Linked DNA regions of Homo sapiens: region 2 is linked to region 1. Evidence: promoter capture Hi-C in 16 types of primary human blood cells and fetal thymus (Javierre and others, 2016). All regions are on one chromosome and are shown on one strand. Each heading gives the region's core, a stretch centred on a gene start or on the middle of the fragment in contact. The rest is flanking DNA. Distances are from core to core; before and after follow the strand shown.

What was found. The method cuts DNA at HindIII sites, captures the fragments that hold promoters and counts their contacts. A CHiCAGO score of 5 or more calls a contact.
Region 2: a fragment that was not itself captured here is called in contact with the fragment with the promoter of TMEM98 in region 1 in 2 of 17 cell types (naive CD4 T cells and non-activated CD4 T cells); the score reaches 5.3 in naive CD4 T cells.

Annotation. Positions count from the first base shown.
Region 1 is chr17:32,924,481-32,929,864 of GRCh38, forward strand. It overlaps TMEM98 (transmembrane protein 98), which reads left to right and starts at 3,673. Exons shown (of 8, transcript NM_015544.3): 1 at 3,673-3,757. The HindIII fragment of the contact is 5,709 bases long and covers 1,284-5,384 here.
Region 2 is chr17:32,815,502-32,820,453 of GRCh38, forward strand. The region is part of intron 1 of MYO1D (myosin ID); the gene reads right to left. Among named protein-coding and RNA genes, the nearest start is that of MYO1D-DT, 59 kb to the right of the region's middle. The HindIII fragment of the contact is 2,430 bases long and covers 1,813-4,242 here.

The DNA.
Region 1 (5,384 bases), core at 2,423-4,922:
AATCAACCCCTTCACAATCTAGAACCCAAAGATTGGGTCTTCTGAGAATATCTACTGTAAAGGCTATAGTTACACAACAGATTTTAAATTCTTTTGTGAAGGTTACGATAGAATCGGCTGAACAGAGAAGTATCTGTGCAGCTGCTGGCACTTGTGGCTTATGGAGAAATACATCAAATGAAGATTATAGAGATTTAGTTGTAGGGGATTAACGAAGAGATTTCTTAGTTAAGTGAGTAGATTCTTTAGCACATTCTTTGATTTAATTTTAGGTGGTTTGGTTTATGGGGATCCTTGGTATGAAGTATGCTCCAAACTCTTAGTATTATCCTCCCAGTAGTCATAATAATAGTCTCCCTGGTGCGCTGTATTATCTCAAAGGCTTTAAATGCTTGCATTCAGCCATCTCTAGAATGTCAAATGGTCTCTTTTCAAGTGGAATGACAAGAGCTGAAAGAAGTGCATGACCAGGAGGATACCATAACCTATGAATGATGTGGTGAGACTGGAAACCCAAAATGATGGCAAGTGAGTGTGGTGCTAAGGCCTTAAATTTTGGTCACACTCTCACCCAAGTGAGAACCTGACCAAAAAGGGAGAATTTTTTTAACAAAATTATGAGAGGCCAGTGTTTTGGACTGACATCATGTGCTAGGCCCCAGCAAACCAAACAAACCAAAACACATAGATCCTAAAACAGACCAGGTTTTGTTTTTCTCCTGCAAACAGGATGTTCCACCATAAGGAGGTACCCTCTACTCAGTCCTTGTTCCCACTGTACAAAACTCACTGTTGTTTTACTGTTTCCCAGTGGGTTTCAAGACCAAATAAGTTCATTTATGATGGTGGTAGTGACATGAATGACTAAAGGTTTGGTCAATCTCTCAAAATTGAGAAAATGACCAAAAGGGGGAAATTGTTAAAGCAAATTAAATATAGCCTGAGAAGGACTCCGTATTTCTATATTGGAGTCTCTGTGGATGAACGGTAACCTAACTTAGGAATATGTGCCTGTAAAAATAGCTGAGTCTTGGCCAATCCCAGCAACCCCAAATCAGGCCAGGAGATAAGGTACTTAATAAAACGTGGAAGTGCTCTGGATAATAGTGGCCATTTTTTTATTGCCTTCTTCCAAACTTATGGAATCACTTCCTTTGTAGTAATTAGCAGAATGTTTCAATTCATCTCCATAATGAACATTCCTGACAGCATAAGTATCCACCCCCTGAAGTTCCTGTTAAATCTTTTAACCATATTCATTTCCTTTCACATAGAGACCATCAAGCTTCAGATGATCATGTGACAAAGTTTCCAGTCAGTTCCAAGTGAAGACACCACCCCTGGCCATCAGGATGCCACACTGTCTCCACTAGACAGAGTAGGGCAAGAGTTCCATGATCTCCAGTAGGTAGGAACTACGCCCCAAGTTGGCATAAAGCAGTTACAGTTCCTCTGCATCCCATAAAGATTTATGGGGGTCATGTCTCTCAGGAGAGAGATGAGGCAGGAGAATAGGGTCTGGAGGCAGGAAACCTAAGGGTTCACCTGACTTCCTAGAACTAAATCAAAAGGAAAACCCCAACTTTCCGCACCTAAGTAACAAACGGACCAGAGACTACTCCCTTTGCAACCCCCACTCCCCACTTTCTGCTTGGCAGATGGAAAATCTTTTGAAAGTACCTCTGATTGCCTTTCCGCAACCAATCCTGCGTTTGCATAGAAGTGTAACTTTGTAACTTCACTTCAGCCTCTGATTGGTTGTGGAAAGCAACCAGTCAGACTGATTGCGGCCAAATATTCTTTTGCATAGGAGTGTAACTTTGTAACTTCACTTTAGCCTCTGATTGGTTGTGGAAAGTAACCGATCAGACTGATTGCGGGCCAAATCTTCTTTTGCATAGGAGTGCAACCTTTGTAACTTCACTTCAGCCTCTGATTGGTTGCTTTCCACAACCAATCAGACTAATTGTGGCACCACTTCATTTACATGGGGTGAACGCCAAGTGGCCAATGGGAAACCTCTAGGAGGTATTTGGACCCCAGAAGATTCTACAGCAGGGGCTCTTGAGCCCATATGCAGGGGCCTGCTCCCACCTTGTGGAATGCACTTTTGTTTTCAATAAATCTCTGCTTTTGTTGCTTCATTCTTTCTTTACTTGCTTTGCTTGTGCCTTTTGTCTAATTCTTTGTTCAAAATGACAAGAACAGGCCGGGTGCGGTGGCTCATGCCTATAATCCCAGCACTTTGGGAAGCTGAGGTGGGTGGATCACCTGAGGTCAGGAGTTCCAGACCAGCCCGGCCAACGTGGCGAAACCCCGTCTCTACTAAAAATAACAAAAAAAATTAGTGGGACGTGGTGGCGCACACCTGTAATCCCAGCTACTTGGGGGGCTGAGGCAGGAGAATCGCTTGAACCCAGGAGGCAGAGGTTGCAGTGAGCTGAGATCGTGCCATTGCACTCCAGCCTGGGCAACAGAGCCAGACTCTGTTTCAAAAAATAAATAAATAAATAAATAAATAAATAAATAAAGGCAAGAACCTGGACACCCTCCACCCGTAAACAGCCAAGACTGTGCCACAGCACTCCAGCCTGGGCGACTGACTGAGACTCTGTCTCAAAAAAATTAAAATAAAACAACAAAAGTATGAACCAAAAAAACCACCTCTGTGGGCTGGATGTGGCCTTGGGGGTACCAGTTTGCAGACCCTGTGTCAAGCGGCCTAGGACCCAATCTGTATCCTTTGTTAACTGTCACCGATACTGACCTCAGACCTGGACCACTGGGATCCTGCCCTGAACCCCGTGCTTTAGTTGGCCCACTCCAGCTGGAGCGTATGTTCCCTTCTAGATCATGCTCCTGGTACCCTGGACTCCGGAAATCCCTGTGTAAACAGCCCTGAGCCTGCTTCCAAGGTCTGACTTCCATCCACCCAGGGCAGCCTGCCCTGCCTGGCCTGAGTATCGTTAGAATGAAGGATGGCAGGGTAGGGGGTGTGTGTTTGCCTGAACCAGTAGACCCCCTTCAGTATGTATGGGATGGAGTCGTGTGGGAATAGAAGCAGCAAGACTACTAGCAAGGGCTCTGCATTTGTACTCTTGCCCCTGGCTAGGCAGTCGCCAGGGGTGGGCCTGCTTCTCACTGACCCGTGGGTCAGGCTGTAAATAAGAGCGACCCTCGATTCACTCTTTACCCTGGGCCAGGCAGTCCGATGCATCCTGCATCCCATCATTCCTAATACCAACTCTGAGGATGCTGACAAGCAGCAGCCCCGTTTTACAGACCGAGGCACAAAGGCTGAACTAAGTTGTCCATAGCTAGTGAGTGGCAGAGGCAGGGTTTCAATGGGACAGTCCGTGGCGGAGCACACTGGCTCCGCCGCCAGCCCCCCTGCGGTACCCATCCGCGCTCGCCGCCTGGGACCGCCAGCCCGGGGCGGGGCGCAGGCAGGGACCCTCCGCTCCCCTCTCCGTCTGCCGCCCGGACGGGCCACCGCGGGGGCGCGAGGAAGGGGTGTTGGGTCGCCAGGGCCCGCCTCCCAGCTGCCCCGGCCGCCGGGGGGCCTGGCGGTGACGGCGGCGCCTGGCGGCGGGGATTTGGCGCGGGCCGGGGGCCGGGGGCCGGGGCGCGGGGGCGCGAGGCTGGATTCCTAGGGCCGCGGCGCTTCCCGGCATGCTCCGCTGCAGGCCCGCGCCCGCGCCCGGACTTTGCCATCGGCGGGGCAGTCGCGGGATGCGCCCGGGAGCCACAGCCTGAGGTGGGTGAGCCCCGCCGGGCCGGGCGGGCCGCGGCGAGTCGGGGAAGGGGACGCGGGGGCGCGGGGCCTGGCCCGGCTGCCGGGGAGAGGGGAGGCGGGTGCCGCAGCTTTGTTCTTGCCGCGGGGCCGCGCGCCCGAAGTTGGGGAAAGGAGTAGGAGCCGCGCCCCGGAGCGCTCCGGGGCCCGTGCGGCGCGTCCCGGGCGGGCTGGGGGTCCCTCCCTCCCGGGGACAGAGTGGGCGTCCTGGGTGGACGAGCACGGGGAAGCGGGTAGGGTCTTGGGTCTGTTCTGTCCTTGTGGTTCTGGAACCGGAGGGGAAGGGGGAAAGTAAGGGAGAGAGAAAGAGACGGAGAAAAACAGGAAAACTTACTCTTCAGTACGCAGGGAAGAATAGAGAAAGAAAAACACAAAGAAACGCCACGCAGACTGCAGAGAAGGACCACGAACACACGCTCCGAGAAACACACTCAGCTCACACGCACTGAGAAGCACACTTAAGATAAACACTCAGGTCACACACACAAGCACACTAAGAAACATTCAGTTCACACACACTCAGAAACACACGCACTCAGAAGCACACAAGATAAACACTCAGCTCACACACAGAAGCACACTCAGAAACATTCAGTTCACACACACTCAGAAACACACGCACTCAGAGGCACACAAGATAAACACTCAGCTCACACACAGAAGCACACTCAAACATTCAGTTCACACACACTCAGAAACACACTCCGAGAAACAGTTCACACTCGCTCAGAAGCACACTCAGCTCACACACACAAGCACACTCGGAGAAACATTCAGCTCACACACACTCAGAAACATACTCTGAGAAACACAATCAGCTCACACCCACTCAAGCACACTCAAGATAAACAGCTCACACAAGCACATTCAGAAAACACTCAGAAACATAGCTAACACTCAGAAACACACTCTGAGAAACACAGCTCACACACTCAGAAGCACACTCTGAGAAACAGCTCACACACACAGAAACAGAAAAACAGCTCACGCACACTAACACAAACACACACGGAGAAACACACTTAGAAGCACACTCAGCTCACACACACCCAGAGAAACACGATCAGAGAAACACTCAGAACGCACAGGAAGAGAGAGGAAACCAAGTGGGTGGTCTTGGAGGCCTGGGGACCGGGGGAGGGGAAGGAGAGACACTGAGAAGCGGGAGACGGGAGCAGCAGAGGGAAAGATGCCTGGAAAGAGAAACAGAGATAAAGGCAGACATAAGAGGAGGCAGAAAACACAAAGGCCAAAAGGAGGTGGTTAAAAGGACAGTAAAGAGAAACACACACGTAGAGAAACAGAGGCGGACCCTGAGAATTACCCCCCTCCCCCACCTACCTCTCACAAAATCAGCGACACACACAGAAGAGGCAGATGCCAGCCTTCTCCTTCTTGTGGTCCAGTGAGCTCGAGATGGGAGAGCAGCTCTGTGAGCCCTTTGAGAAAGGCTTCCTTGGCACTTTAAGCCAGGCATGTCCCAACCTTGTCTACCTGGCAAACTCCTGCTCATCCTTCAAAACCCAGCTCTAGCCTCACCACTCCTGTGAAAGTGTCAGTTCCCAGAAAGTGTCATGCAAGCACAGTTACT
Region 2 (4,952 bases), core at 1,778-4,277, 110 kb before region 1:
AGTTCTTATTCTCTTAACTTTTTTAAAAGCATAGTTATTATGCTTAAGTCCAATCCTGGTCAGGCAGCCCTCTTCCCTCTCGTAGATTTGCCAATGAGAACAGGAGGCCTAAAGAGCACACGCTTTGGCAAAAGAAACAAACAAGAAAGCATGCTGGCTCTGAATTCCCTTGGCCTCAAAGTGACACATCACTCTGTGCAGAGTTCATTGGCCAATACCACAGGTTAGTCCTGTGGTCCCCACCTAACTGCAAGCTAGGTAGGAAATGTTGAGAAGGACAAGGTAAGTGATTACCGTCTCTGCCACACCTGTATAGACCACAAGCCCCAGTTTCTAGGTACATTTTCCTATGTAAATTTCGGGGTTGTATTCTCTCATACAAATTAGTTTCTTGTAAGTTTGTTTACTAGTATCAATAACTGAGAATCAAGAGGATAAAATTAAACTTCTGGGCTTATAAACAAATCCTTTATCCATGGTAACCTAGTAGCAACTAACTGATCTGAAAACCAGTGGGAAGTAGCCAGTTGATTCTTCTCAATATCTCTCAGCTACAATATCCTAAACAAGGAATCCATTCATCTATCAGTCAATAAATATTTATTGAGAATGTCTGTGGGTCTAGTGTGATGTTTAACACTGCATTAAGCGTCTGGGAGTGAAAAGGGCACATTTGGTTCCTGCCCTGATCAAACTTAGAGTCAAGTGAGGAACACAGTTTTAAAAAATTATCAACAATCATATTATTACAATCCAGACAAACAAGAGATATAGGAAGAGGTCACAGTGCTAACACTGTATTAAACATGAGACCTGACCAGGTTAGGAAAGGCTTCACTGAGACAAACGCAGGGCCCAGAAGGATACATAAGGGTTAGGCAGCTAAAGAGAGAAGGTTAATGTCCTAGACCAAGGGAAAGGTTGGAAACTTAGTCCAATGTTATTTACTTTTCGTCTTAAACTTTGAAATCATTTTAATAATTATTTTGGTTTCTCTCCACCTGATTGCTGTAGTACTATTAAAACTGAATTTTAAATAATTCTGTTTGATTCTAAACAGTCAAGTTTGCAATAGATTGCCATGTTTTAACAATATCTTCAAATTCTAGGCAAGGGAAAAAACATTTGCATATAATTTTTCTCTAAACATATTTATACTATGTATTTACAATTAGTAAATCCTGAGTTACTTCATTGTTTTTATATTAAGTGGTCTAAATCTAATAAATGGATGCACTCACCTCAACTGCAGATATTATGAAAAATTCCTGGATGTAGCATAAGTATGAGTTTAAAATTCAACATCAAAACCTTAATCCATTTTCATCACACACACAGGATTTAGTCTTTCTTCCAATATAATACAGTCCCTTTTTGAATTTTTTTAAATAATAAAAAAATTAGTGTTTTTAACTAAAGAAAAAGATGACAAGCGGTAAGAAATGCCACAGAATAAAAAGTTTTTGGTGAGGAAAAATTATGTAACTTAGGCAAGTAACTACTTGTACCTCAAATTTCTATTTAATGAGGTACTAGATGTATTGCTATAAATAAAATAAAAATAGTAATTATCTGCTAGCTACTTCACAGTGATTTTTAAATTTTTTTGTAGATACAGGGTCATGATATGTTGCCCAGGTTGGTCTTGAACTCCTGGCCTCAAGTGATTCTCCCACCTCGGCCTCTCAAAGTGTTAGGATTATAGGCATGAGCCACCATGCCTGGCTAACAGTAATGTTACAAGAATACATTAGCAATCTACAAATTTTATGCATTTCTAAAAAGATATGAAGACTGAAGACTGAAGACTGAAGCTTCTTTATGTTGCTGAGTAACAGGAAAACAACCACCAGATTATTTAATGGTTTAGCAACAAAAAACTTGGAACAAGAACATATTTGTACCTCTCTTAATTACAGTAATAAAATGCATATACATTCTATGCCTTTTGAAGGTAATATTTTACACTCATAAAATGACTGCAGTTTAAAAACTGGTTTTGTCAGCTAAACACAGGAGTTACCATTTTCAAGGAAAGTAATCCTTCCCAGCTATAAAAGCCTATACATTTATGACTTGTTTTCAGTTCAAAAACTCAAAATTAACCAAAATAAAAGGATCCAGTAGAGGTTGATGTTCCTCTTTCTTTGCTTTTTCTCTAAACTGTTTTCAAGTAGTATAGTAATAGCCAACACTCACTGAGCGTTACCATGCCAGGCACTGAGCTAAGTGGTTTACGTGCATTATCACATTTAATCTTCACAACAACCCTATATGGTATGCACTTTTAAAGAAATATCTTACTTTCCAGATAAAGAAATGGAGACTTTAAGAGGTAGTAGGGGCCGGGCGCGGTGGCTCACGCCTGTAATCCCAGCACTTTGGGAGGCCGAGGCGGGCGGATCACGAGGTCAGGAGATCGAGACCATCCCGGCTAAAACGGTGAAACCCCGTCTCTACTAAAAATACAAAAAATTAGCCGGGCGTAGTGGCGGGCGCCTGTAGTCCCAGCTACTTGGGAGGCTGAGGCAGGAGAATGGCGTGAACCCGGGAGGCGGAGCTTGCAGTGAGCCGAGATCCCGCCACTGCACTCCAGCCTGGGCGACAGAGCGAGACTCCGTCTCAAAAAAAAAAAAAAAAAAAAGAGGTAGTAGGTTCTTGCCCTACAAGTATTGTGAAAGAGTTGAGATTCACCTAAGCAGTCTACTTCTAGAGCCAGTGCTTTTAACCACACCTCTATCCTGCAAATAGTCTGTAAACAAGTCTTAGTGATGCTTCTGTTCAAACTGTGGATCGCTGCTGCCCCTGCAGTCTCTGACCATTCTTCCCAGCAATGCTGAGCTGTGGTCCCATGTGAAGGCCTCATTATGGAAGGAGGGTTGGCTAAGTATCCAATAGTAGCTCCAGCCCAGTGGGAAGGTACCACCACTTGAGATGACACTGCAACGGAGGCAGATGCTCGATGGACACATTCAAGACCCATTCGGCTCAAGGATCAAAAAAATGGGGCTTGCAAGTTCCCATTCTTCTTTTCTAGAAGAGCTGCTGAGAGAGAGACCAATGGGGGAAATAAAGTGAAAGCCTCACTCTTCTCTAGCCTAAGTTTTAGAGTCCAGTGAAGCATTGCAGCATAGGCTTTGTAGTCAGAAAACCCTGAGATCAAATCCTGGTTCTACCACTTGCTATAGCGATCTTGGGCAAGGGGTCAGATCTCTCTAAGCCTGTTTCCTCATCTGTAAGGAAGGGTATTATATCACATAAGGTTACTGTGAGGACTAAATTAGACTAAGTATGCAATAGGATACCAGGGTCCAGTTTTCTTTGGATGTAATGGGCCTGGAAAATTCCTTAAAATCCTTTTCACCTACAAAATCTTATGAAGTTCTGCCTCATTTTCTGCTTAAAAACTTTAAAAAATTAATAGAAATAAAAGAGAATTCTACTAGAGAGATAGGTTGACGTTACTTCTTCCTTGCTTTTTCCTTAAAGTGGAATGTTAAAAACTAGGATATGCCTGGAAAGTGTTCTATCTACAAAAAAGGAAGTTAGCAGCCGCTGAAAAGTAACTACAGATGGCTATTCACTTTACTCTGAAAGCATTTGCTGTTGATATAATCACACCACAGGAAAACATCATAATGTTGGCTGAAAGAAATCTGAAATGACACAGCAATAATGCTTCATCATGTAGAAGTTGGTTTCAAGTTTTTTTTTTTTTTTCGGTCTGGATAGTGTGATTGCAAGAAGGGAGGCTATGCTAGCTTGGTTATAAGCAGGGAAGTTGGCTGTGAGGAGATAAACAGAGATCTCACAGGAATTCTGGGGTAGAAATCACTGGACCGGAACTGAAGGGCTATCTCCCAGCTTCTGCTTCTGCCTTTTCATTCAGTCCATTCCCCTCCGTTTACTCAACAGTTCCCTCTGCTTTGGTGGCAGTTTCTGCTCCTTCTCAAGGCTGACTTGCACATGGCTCTGACTTGCTGTGGCCTCCTCTCCATCATTCTCTGCATCAGGTGCTTTCAACCTTGATTTTATTGTTTATATATACTTATGAACTTTTCTGCAGGGAATGTCCATACTTTCATCAGATGCTTCAGGAAAGCAATGACCCCAAAAAGGAATAAAAACCACTGTTCTATCTCATGACACTCTACCTTTAGTTTCTACTAGTAACTCTTTTAGTTATTCAGTTTCTTAATTCCAAATTCCTACCAGAATAATAATAATGGCTACCATTTATGAAGCTTTGAGTATGAGCCAGATACTGTTCTAAGGACTTAACTATTTTTAATTCTCAAAACCACATTATATAGGATCTAATATTACAGAGAAGGAAACTGAGGCATAGTGAACTTTGGGTAACCTGCTTAAGGTTACACAACTAGCAAGTGGCTAAGTCGGAATTTCAATCTAGACAACATGCATAGTACTTAAAACTGACTGAGTTAAACTTTGCAAATCAAGCCACAGGTTGTTGGTAAGCCCACAGGTTGGTCATCTTTGGATTATGTCTCATTCCAGATGTGGCAAGAGGGAGAGACGGGAGACAGGAATCAAGTGGTTCAAAACATGGTCACTGTTCAGTAAGGCCATAGAAGGGTAGTTTCTCTTTTAAAAAGTGAGAACAAGGATGCACAGAAATGGGAACTCTTGCACACTGTTGGTGGGAATGTAAACTGGTACAGCCATTATGGAAAACAGTATGTAGGTTCCTCAAAAAATTAAAAATAGAGCTACCATATGACCCAGCAATCCCACTTCTGGGTATATGTTCAAAGGAAAGAAAATCACCATCTTGAAGACAGATCTTCACCCCATGTTCACTGCAGCATATTCACATTAGTCTCAAGATACGAAAGAATCAAAGTGTCTGTTGACAAATGGATGGATAAAGAAAATGTGATATACACACATACACAGAAAATGGAATACTATTCAGTTTTAAAAAGCAA